2 separate regions of the Homo sapiens genome follow, and region 2 is linked to region 1. Evidence: promoter capture Hi-C in human tissues and cell types (Jung and others, 2019). All regions are on one chromosome and are shown on one strand. Each heading gives the region's core, a stretch centred on a gene start or on the middle of the fragment in contact. The rest is flanking DNA. Distances are from core to core; before and after follow the strand shown. Region 1 holds the start of SPSB1 (splA/ryanodine receptor domain and SOCS box containing 1). Region 2 overlaps SLC25A33 (solute carrier family 25 member 33).

Region 1 (5,172 bases), core at 1,640-4,139:
ACCATTTCCCGGAGACAGATTAAAGACATGAGCAAATTGTGCTGATGCAAGTGATAAAATGTGTGTGGGGGTGGGGTGGAGTTGGGGAGGGGGTTGGGGATGACACCACTGGGAGCCCAGAGCCACCTCCCTCCCGACTCACCCCTGCAGTACACAGATCTTTGTATAAGTCCTGAGTCACCCTTCAAATTTTTGGATAGTATCTATCAGCTTATGTCACAATGTTGCAAGATTATGTATCTTTTTTTAACAAACAATAGTATCAGCATGCTAGGGTGATTCTGAGCCCTTCTGACACATAAACTGGCTTCCAGGATTGCTCAACATTGCCCCATGCTGCAGCAGTCACTGCCGGCTGACCAGCCTTCCATCATCCGGCCAACCTGCCCAGCGTCCTGGAGGAGAGAAGGCCCACTCCCCAGGGGTTCTTCTGGGAAATTTAGGTCAGCAGGGTCTAATTATTCAACTGGATCAAGAGCTGAGATTTCCAGATTAACGCCGAAGGGGGGTGGGGTGGGGGTGCTGAAGACTTTTCATCAGGAACTGTCTTTCAGGGCCTTAAACATCAAAGCTGGGTCTCTAGCTCCAAAGTGCCCCAGTCTGCCCTGGAAGCTTCCCAGATGTTAAGAGGTGAGGCTTGGTGGAGTTCCTCTTAGCAAAGCTGACAACACCATGGCCCCAGGCCACGTGGCCGTAGCACCAGCCCCATGAGATGCCAGTGTCTGGTAGATGCCACACACACAGTGAATAATCCACCAAACAGGGCTACTCTCCCAAGGAGAAATGAACCCATCAGAGGCAGCTGTGATTTTCAGCAATGACTGACGTGGGCTGCACCCCATGGGCCTGTCCCAGAGGCTCTCACCAGTCTCCCAAGTAAACAACAGTTCTCAAACTGCAGAGTGGCTGGAGGGGGTCATATGCTCTTTTAAAATTATTATTACCTTTTTTTTCTTTTTTTTTGAGATGGAGTCTCGCTCTGTTGCCCAGGCTGGAGTGCAGTGGTGCGATGTCGGCTCACTGCAACCTCTGCCTCCTGGGTTCAAGAGATTCTCCTGCCTCAGCCTCCCGAGTAGCTGGGATCGCAGGCACGTACCACCACACCCAGCTAATTTTTGCATTTTCAGTAGAGATGGAGTGTTGCCATGTTGGCCAGGCTGGTCCTGAACTTCTTTTTTTTTTTTTTTTTTTTTTTTTGTGAGACGGAGTCTCGCTCTGTCACCTGGGCTGGAGTGCAGTGGCGCAATCTCGGCTCACTGCAATCTCTGCCTCCCGGGTTCACACCATTCTCCTGCCTCAGCCTCCCAAGTAGCTGGGACTTACAGATGCCCGCCACCACGCCTGGCTAATTTTTTATATTTGTAGTAGTGACGGGTTTCATCGTGTTAGCCAGGATGGTCTCCATCTCCTGACCTCGTGATCCGCCCGCCTCGACCTCCCAAAGTGCTGGGATTACAGGTGTGAGCCACCAAGCCCAGCCTGGTCCTGAACTTCTGACCTCAGGTGATCCACCTGCCTCAGCCTCCCAAAGCGCTGGGATTACAGGTGTGAGCCATCATGCCCGGCCAATTATTATTATTATTATTTAATTTTTGTGCAGAGTCTGTGTCTTGCTCTGTTGCCCGGGCTGCTCTTGAACTCCTGGGCTTAAGTGATCTGCCTGCCTCAGCCACCCAAAGTGTGGGGATTAAGGGCGTGAGAGCCACCACCTCCAGCCTCAAGTGATCTTTTAAATGGGAAGCACCCCTAAGCTGCTGGCCATGGCTGCCCACCTGACTAGTCTGGGTTCAACATTCCTAAACCGCTGGCACCTGGAAAGTCAGAATGCCCACTCAGGCCCGCCCAGCCCAGGGCAGTTGGTTGAGTCTCCGTAATCCTATTCTGAGTTCAAACAAAGCTAAACCAAACTGATTTTCAGCACCGTAAAATGAGAGACATCAAACTTTGTAATCTCACAGTTCAATTGGGTTCCAAGCTCTGGACAGCTGGCCTCGGGCCAGGCACTGTTTCCTCGCCTTTACAGTGAGTGTGTCATTAGTCCCACCCTCACTGTACTGGGTTATGGTAAAGACACAGTAACTACGGAAGCCCCGCTATTTGTTTCGGCTCCCCCAGAAAGGCTAACTCCTCACCGTTTTCAATGGACACTACACAGCGAGGGGTGGGGAATGCCAGGAGATTTTGCTCTCAAAACAGCAAAGTCTTTAAAATCTTCCCAGTCCCAAGTGACTGCTCTGTTCGGGGAAGGGGGAGGAAAATTCCTTGAACGAGCTAGAGCCACAGGACAAGTCCCCAGAGGCTGGGACCTGTTCAGGGAGCAGCCCTGCGGATGCCAGGTGCCCGCGCCCTCAGGGTCTCGAGGTCCGAGGCCCCCGTCCCCGTGGGCACCGAAACGCGAGCGGCCGAAACAGCGCTGCAGGAGGCTCCCTGGACCCCCGGCGGCTGCCCACTCGTCCCCGCTGGGCACTTCAGAGGAGGCCGGCGAGGCCTTGCTCGGGGTTCCTGGGACAACCCCACTCTCCGCGAAGATTTCTCCTTCTCGTAAGACCCCCGCCCCCACTCCAGCCTCCCACGGCTGCAACCCAGGCCCTGCGCCACGCGTTTCCCAAAGACGCCTCCGGAGGGACCCGAGCTTCGGGCCGGCAACACCAGGGCGGCGGCTCGGGAGAGGGCTGCGGACTAAGGGGGCGGAGGGGGCGGCCGAACCAGCGCCGGGCTGACGCGCCCCGCGCCCCGCGCCCCGCGCCCCCGGCCTTCCCTGCAGTGCTGAGTGGTCCGTGCGCCCGAGGTCGGGGGCGGGGCGGGGCGGGGCGGGGCAGGGACGGCCCCGCCCACCGGCGCTTTTCTCTTTTTTTTCACTTTAAAGCCGTCGGTTGCTTTTTCTCCTCCGCACAGAAGTCGCGCTCGGGCAGCCTGCGCGCTCGCAGCAGGAACCAGGCTCCAGGCGCCGGCGCCGGGGCCGGGGCCGCGGGGAGGAGGCGACTTCGCTCCCTGCGGCGGGCGCGGCCCGGGCGCCCGAGCCTCCTCGGCCTTGGAGAGCAGCGGCGGCGGCGGCACCCCGGGCGCGGTAGGCGGCGCGGGGCACCTGGGACCCCGATGGGTGGGCGACCGGCCCGGGAGGGGGAGGCGCGGGGGGCCGGGCGAGGGCGGACGCGGGGATCGCGCCGCTGGGGGACCGAGTGGGTGGCGCGGGGCCGGGCGCGGGGGAGCGGGTGGAGTACGGGATGGGGACTCGGGGCGCGGCCCCTCCCGCGGTGGCTCCGGGGGCGCCTCCCTCGCCGCGGCTCCTGGGAGAGGGGCCCAGGCCCGCCCCGCGCTGCCGCCGCTGCAGGGCAGGGGGTCCCGGGGCGAGGCGCGGCGGGGGTCTCGGGGCGCGGGGACCGTCGCAACGAGTTGCGGTCCCGAGGAGGGGCTGGGGCGCTCCGGGGCCGCCGACCCGTCCCCCCTTTAGCCCGGGGAAAGCGGGACCCCGCTCGGCTGAGTTAGTTTCGCTTTTCCCGCCAGTCCGAGTCGGGATTGGCGGCGCGGCCCGGTCCCCCGTCGGGGCGCCCCCACCCTCCCGCAGCGCCTCCCCCAGGGAGCCTGCCGGGGACACCCGAGCGCCGCCCTCCCCGCCGCCCCGGAGCCGCCGCGGCTTCTCCCAGCAGCGGAGGGAGAGCCGGAGGGTTGTCAGGAAATCGATTAAATCAGAAAAACAAGGGCGGCCTGGGCCCGCGGGAGGAACCGCGGATGGGTCACCGTCCCCGGGCGTGTACTGGGCTCGGTGGCGTCCAGGTTCCGGTGAGGACGGGACGGCCCCGAGAGGAGGGTGCGGGTCTGCAGGAAGAGCGGGTGTCTCTGAGAGTGCATCTGCGTGTGTGTTTGTGCATGTCCTTGTGAATATGTGCCTGCGTATGAGTGTGTCTGTGTGTTCATGTGGGTGTGTGTGTGAGTGTGTCTCTAAGTGCATCTGTGTATTTATGTGCCTCTGAGTGTGTGTGTGAGTCTGTGTGTCTGTCAATGTGTGCCTGAGACTCTAAGTGACTGTGTGTGTGTGTGTGTGTCTGAGTGCGTCTTTGTGTATTTGTGTGTGCCTCTCTGTGTATGTCTGTGTGTCTTTGTGTGTGTCTGTGTGTGAGTGTGTATGTGTCTTTGGGTGTGTGTCTCTGCAAGTTTGTGTCTCTGAGTGTCTGTCTCTGCAAATGTGTGTCTCTGTGTCTTTGTGTCTGTGTGTGTCTTTGCGTGTGTGTGTCTTTGTGTCTCTTTGTGTGTCCACACGTGTCTCTGTGTCTGTCTCTGTGTCTGTGTCTCTGAGTGCGTCTGTGTATGTGTGAGTGTCTGTGTGTCTCCAAGTGTGTGTCTGTGTGTCTTTGTGTGTGTTTCTCTGTGAGTGTGTGTGGGGACCATCCAGGGGGCCCTCTGGTTCCTAGGTACTGCTCCTCATGGTGATTTCTTTACTTGGTTCTGGATAGCCGGGCATGCTGGGCCACAGACACCCCACTAGGCAAGCCCTGCTGGTGCCCCCGAGGAGAGCGCAGGCTCTTCCTCTCTCCATTTCTCTGAAAATGAACTACACAGTTTGGGGGTGAGTTGGCAGGGGCTGCTTCCTGAGTGAGTAATATTTAATTAAACACTCCAGTCTGTAGCATCAGAAACTGGTCATGAGTTGAGTTTTAACAGGTGTTCATGGTAAAAGCGCCATCCCTGGTGACTAAGGTTTGATGTCCTTGGAAGAATTTTCTCGTTGGGGGGGCTGGGCCCACAACTTCATTTCTCATCGTGGGGTGTGAGGAGAACAGCAAGCAAGGAAGGGGATGGGGGCCTCTCCCTTCTGCCCTGTCCCCCTCCTCAGACCCCCCTCCCAGTGGTGGAAAGCCCTGGGCTAAGCATGGGCAGCACAGGTGGTCTCTCCACACTGAGGAATTTTGGAGTCAGGGAAGTCCTGTCTTACTGTCTAGGCCAGCCTGTCCTAGAGAGGCCCAGAGAGGGCGGTTCACTTACCCAGACTGCACAGCCAGGGCTGTGGACCAAGACTCCCCAGTCCTGAAACTGTTGCTCTTGGTTACTGTCCCCAGCACTGAGGTCATGGGCCAGGCACTTCGTGTCTCCCCAGCTGTGAAGTGATGGGCTGGATTAGATCATTTAAAGCACTCCTGCTCTCTTACAGCTGCTTTTCTTCTGCAGGGAGCACTT
Region 2 (4,820 bases), core at 2,213-4,712, 270 kb after region 1:
CCTCCCAATGTGCTAGGATTACAGATGTGAGCCACTGCTCCCAGCCATTCTATTAACTTTTGACTAGCATATGATTATTTGTGAGCTAGATCAACCTTAAGTGCTATCAAATGGATGGTACTACTAGTAAAGAGAAATCCTCCATAAGAAAAAGAGATTAAATTAGAGAAGACCATTATATAACAATGTAAATTCTACTGGATACCATGGAAATTGAACCATTGAAGAGAGTAAATTTAACCAACGTGAATAACTGTGTTGCTGCGGAAAAATGCCTCTAAAGAATGTTCCATACAATCCTTTCAGGATTTTCTAAGTCGCTTTTAATTGGAAACAATATTTAACTTTTTTGTGTGAAAAGCACATTGGCGAGGTTATAGAGAAATCGGAACCCCTTTTACATTGCAGGCGGGAATGTAAGGTGGTGTAACCACTATAGAAAACAGCCTAGTGGTTTCTCAAAAAATTAGGCATAGGATTACCGTGTGATCCAGCAATTCCACTTGGATTCCACAAAAGAATCCAAAGCAAGGACTCAAACAAATATTTGTACACCCATGTTTATAGCAGCACTACATATAATAGCCAAAACGTGGAAGCAACCCAAGTGTCCATCGATGGGTGAATGGATAATAAAATGTGGTATATACAGCAGTGGAATAATATTCAGCCTTTAAAAAAAAGGAAATTCTGGGTGGGCACAGTGGCTCATGCCTGTAATCCCAGCACTTAGTAAGGCCAAGGTGGGTGGATCACTTGAGGCCAGAAGTTCGAGACCAGCCTGGCCAACATGGTGACACCTCGTCTCTATTTAAAAAAAAAAAAAAATATATATATATATATATATATATATACACAAAAATTAGCTGAGCGTGGTGGCACTCACCTGTAATCCTAGCTACTGGGAAGGCTGAAGCACAAGAATTGCTTGAACTTAGGAGGTGAAGGTTGCTGTGAGCCGAGATCGTCCCACTGCACTCCAGCCTGGGTGATGGAGTAAGACCCTGTCTCAAAAAAGGAATAAAATAAAAAGAAGGAAATTGTGACACATGCTACAACATGGATGAACCTCAAAGACTGAGTGAAATAAGCCAGTCACAAAAAAAGATGTGACGCCACTGATAAGAGATACCTAGAGTTGTCAGATTAGAGACAGTAGAATGGTGACTGCCAGGGCCTGACGGGAGGGAGGGCTAGGGAGCTGGTGCTTAATGAGTGCAAAAGTTCAGTTTGAAAAGATGAAAAGGTTCTGGAGGTAGATGGTGGTGATGGTTGCACAACAGTGTGGATGTACTTAATGTCACTCAACTGTACACTTAAAAATGGTTACAATGTGGCTCTCGCCTGTAATCCCAGCACTTTGGGAGGCCTAGGTGGGTGGATCACGAGGTCAGGAGTTCAAGACCATCCTGGCTAACACAGTGAAACCCTGTGTCTACTAAAAATACAAAAAATTAGCTGGGCGTGGTGGTGGGTGCCTGTAGTCCCAGCTACTTGGTAGGCTGAGGCAGGAGAATGGCATGAACCTGGGAGGCGGAGCTTGCAGTGAGCTGAGATCATGCCACTGCACTCCAGCCTGGGCAACAGAGCGAGACTCTGTCTCAGAAAAAAAAAAGGTTACAATGGTAGATTTTCTATTATGTGTATGTCATCACAAAAAAAAAAGTTTAAAATTAAAGCAGTTGGCTGGGTGCATTGGCTCACGCCTATAATCCCAGCACTTTGGGAGGCCAAGGCAGGCGGATCATCAGGTCGGGAGATTGAGACCATCCTGGCTAATGCAGTGAAACCCCGTCTTTACTAAAAATACAAAAAATTAGCCGGGCGTGGTGGCGGGTGCCTGTAGTCCCAGCTGCTCGGGGGGCTGAGGCAGGAGAATGGTGTGAACCTGGGAGGCGGAGCTTGCAGTGAGCCAAGATTGCACCACTGCATTCCAGCCTGGGTGACAGAGTGAGACTCTGTCTCAAAAAAAAAAAAACAAAGAAAAGAAAATGAAAAACGAAAAGCAGTCACGGTATAATCTTTGGACTTGAGATACTAGGCTTTGGTTTTAAATAACCGTCATCCGTCCATGAAAATTATTAGTTTTCTATTCCTTAAATTCTGCCCTCCCCCGCCAACTTTTTTTTTGTTTTTAATTTTTGAGACAAGGGGTCTCTTTCTGTCGCTAAAGCTGGAGTGCAGTGGCATGATCATGGCTCACTGCAGCCTTGACCTCCCAGGCTAAGTGATCCTCTTACCTCAGCCTCCTGAGTAGCTGGGACCACAGGCACACACCACCACACCTGGCTAATATTTTTCATTTTTTGTATAGATGGGGTTTATACTGTGTTGCTCAGGCTGGTCTGGAACTCCTGGGTTCAAGTGATCCTCCTACCTGGACCTCCCAAAATGCTGGGATTACAGGTATGAGCACTGAGCTGGCTCTATTCTTTATATCCCTGTATAAGATTCTACTACATTAGGTAAAGATCTAGAAGATAGGATTGTTAGAAGCAGTAAATCCAAAAGAAATCTCTGAACCTGTTTCTCAGTGAATCTTATTATGATGAGGAAATTATTCCCTGTGTGGCACCCTCTGCCAGATACTCATCCTGCTTTCACAGGATTTCATTGTATAGTACAGACTCTGCACAGCTTCCTCCTGTGTTGGGCCGGGTGTGGTGGCTCATGCCTGTAATCCCAGCACTTTGTGAGGCTGAGGCGGGCAGATCACCTGAGGTGAGGAGTTCAAGACCAGCCTGACCAGCATGGAGAAACCCCATCTCTACTAAAAATATAAAGTTAGCTGAGCGTGGTGGTGCATGCCTTTAATCCCAGTTACTCGGGAGGCTGAGGTAGGAGAAACGCTTCAACCTGGGGGGCGGAAGTTGCAGTGAGCCGAGATCACGCCATTGCACTCCAGCCTGGGCAACAAGAGTGAAACTCCGTCTAAATAATAATAATAAATAAATAAAAATACAAAATTAGCTGGGTGTGGTGGTGAGTGCCTGTAATCCCAGCTACTTGGGAGGCTGAGGCAGGAGAATTGCTAGAACCCAGGAGGCAGAGGTTCCAGTGAGCCGAGATCATGTTACTGCACTCCAGCCTGGGCAACAGAGCGAGACTCCATCTCAAAAAGAAAAAAAAAAGGGAGAGAAAGAAAATATGTCTAACTGATGCTTTTTGAGGCATGTTTTTTCACTGTGCTAATGATAGCAGTATTCTACAGCCTTCCGATTCTGTATTGTAACCAAATCAGATAAGAGTCGAGCTTGACATCTCTCAAACATTTTATTCTCTCAAGGAACTAATGAGAAGGTTGACTCTTTATCATTTTTAATAGGCCTTGCCTGAGGGGTTTTAAAGGTTTGTCTTTTCTTATTATTCAGGTCGATCTTGGAGAAAGAGGGACCAAAGTCACTTTTTAGAGGCTTGGGTCCAAATTTGGTTGGAGTTGCACCATCAAGGTAAGCATTAAACTTTCCAGCTAGCTCATGCTAAGCAGTATGGAATTCTGGGTCCTTTCTTACCAAAGGGTGATGCTGCTGAATGACCAGTGTCTTTTTCTATGTTGGATTTGCCTAAATATAGCGGACATAGCAAATAGTCATTGAGAATGCTAGGCGTGTCTTCAGTGTGTGAAAGAAAGGATTCTACTTACTGTATTCTTTATATTCTTAAGTGTGAAAATTAATCTGCTATCATTACTGTAATGTACTTTAAGTGTTTGCTACTCTAAGTATGGCATGTGGCCAGCAGCATTAGTATTGTATGAGAGCTTGTTATAAACACACAATCCCAGGGCACATCCCAGACCTACATCAGAATCTGCATTTTAACAGAACCCCCAGGTGACTCCAACGCAGTTAGAAACACTGATCCAGAGGAATTGTAAAGGCTTTTAACTTCACTTTCTGTAAAATGACATCCTCATATCTTTGCAGGGCTTCTCCTGAAAGCCTGTTTGAAATATACAGAACTGTACTGTCCCAGTACATAAGGGTAGTCACTGGCCACATGGAGCAGTTTAAATGTAAATTAATCAGAATTAAAGGTTCAGTTGCTCAGTCTTCATGTTTCAAGCACTCAATCTCCACATGCAGCTAATGGCTACTGTATTGAAGAGCAGAGATACAGGGCATCCTATCTTGGCAGAAAGTTCTCTTGGATAGATAGGATAGAGAGGATAACAGTGTATGATTGTAAAAGTAACAGAGACAGATAGAGAATAGCATATCTGGAAAGTAGATTAAAAACTGCTTCCAGGCCGGCTGTGGTGGCTCACCTGTGTAATCCCAGCACTTTGGGAGGCTGAGGCAGGTGGATCACCAGAGGTCAGGAATTGGAGACCAGCCTGGCCAACTTGGCGAAACCCCATCTCTACTAAAAATGAAAAATCAGCCAGGCATGGTGGCAGGCACCTGTAATCCCACCTACTCTGGAGGCTGAGGCAGGAGAATTGCTTGAACCCAGTGGGAGGCAGAGGTTGCAGTGAGCTGAGATCATGCCGCTTCACTGCAGCCTGGGTGAAAGAGTGAAACTCCATCTCAAAAAGAAAAAACAAAACAAAACAAAAAAACTTCTTCCAGAAAGGACCTCCTGAGAAGGGAACTGGGTGGCAGGGCAGGACACTTAACTTGTCATACTCCAAGAGACTTGAAAGAAAATGAAGTCTGGCCGGGTGCGGTGGCTCACGCCTGTAATCCCAGCACTTTGGGAGGCCGAGGCCGGGGGATCACGGGGTCAGGAGATCGAGACCATCCTGGCTAACGCGGTGAAACCCCGTCTCTACTAAAAATACAAAAAACTAGCCGGGCGTGATGGCTGGCACCTGTAGT

Evidence for each region. Contacts are between HindIII fragments. The study calls those that stand out against the background at their distance.
Region 2: a contact is called between a fragment that was not itself captured here and the fragment with the promoter of SPSB1 in region 1, in 1 of the 25 tissues and cell types used here (pancreas).

The regions. Positions count from the first base shown.
Region 1 is chr1:9,290,005-9,295,176 of GRCh38, forward strand. It overlaps SPSB1 (splA/ryanodine receptor domain and SOCS box containing 1), which reads left to right and starts at 2,890. Exons shown (of 3, transcript NM_025106.4): 1 at 2,890-3,067. RefSeq lists silencers at 2,555-2,724, 2,775-2,854, 2,925-2,994, 3,535-3,824. The HindIII fragment of the contact is 10,751 bases long and covers 102-5,172 here.
Region 2 is chr1:9,563,913-9,568,732 of GRCh38, forward strand. It overlaps SLC25A33 (solute carrier family 25 member 33), which reads left to right. Exons shown (of 7, transcript NM_032315.3): 3 at 3,372-3,449. Among named protein-coding and RNA genes, the nearest start is that of TMEM201, 23 kb to the right of the region's middle. The HindIII fragment of the contact is 4,117 bases long and covers 1,405-4,820 here.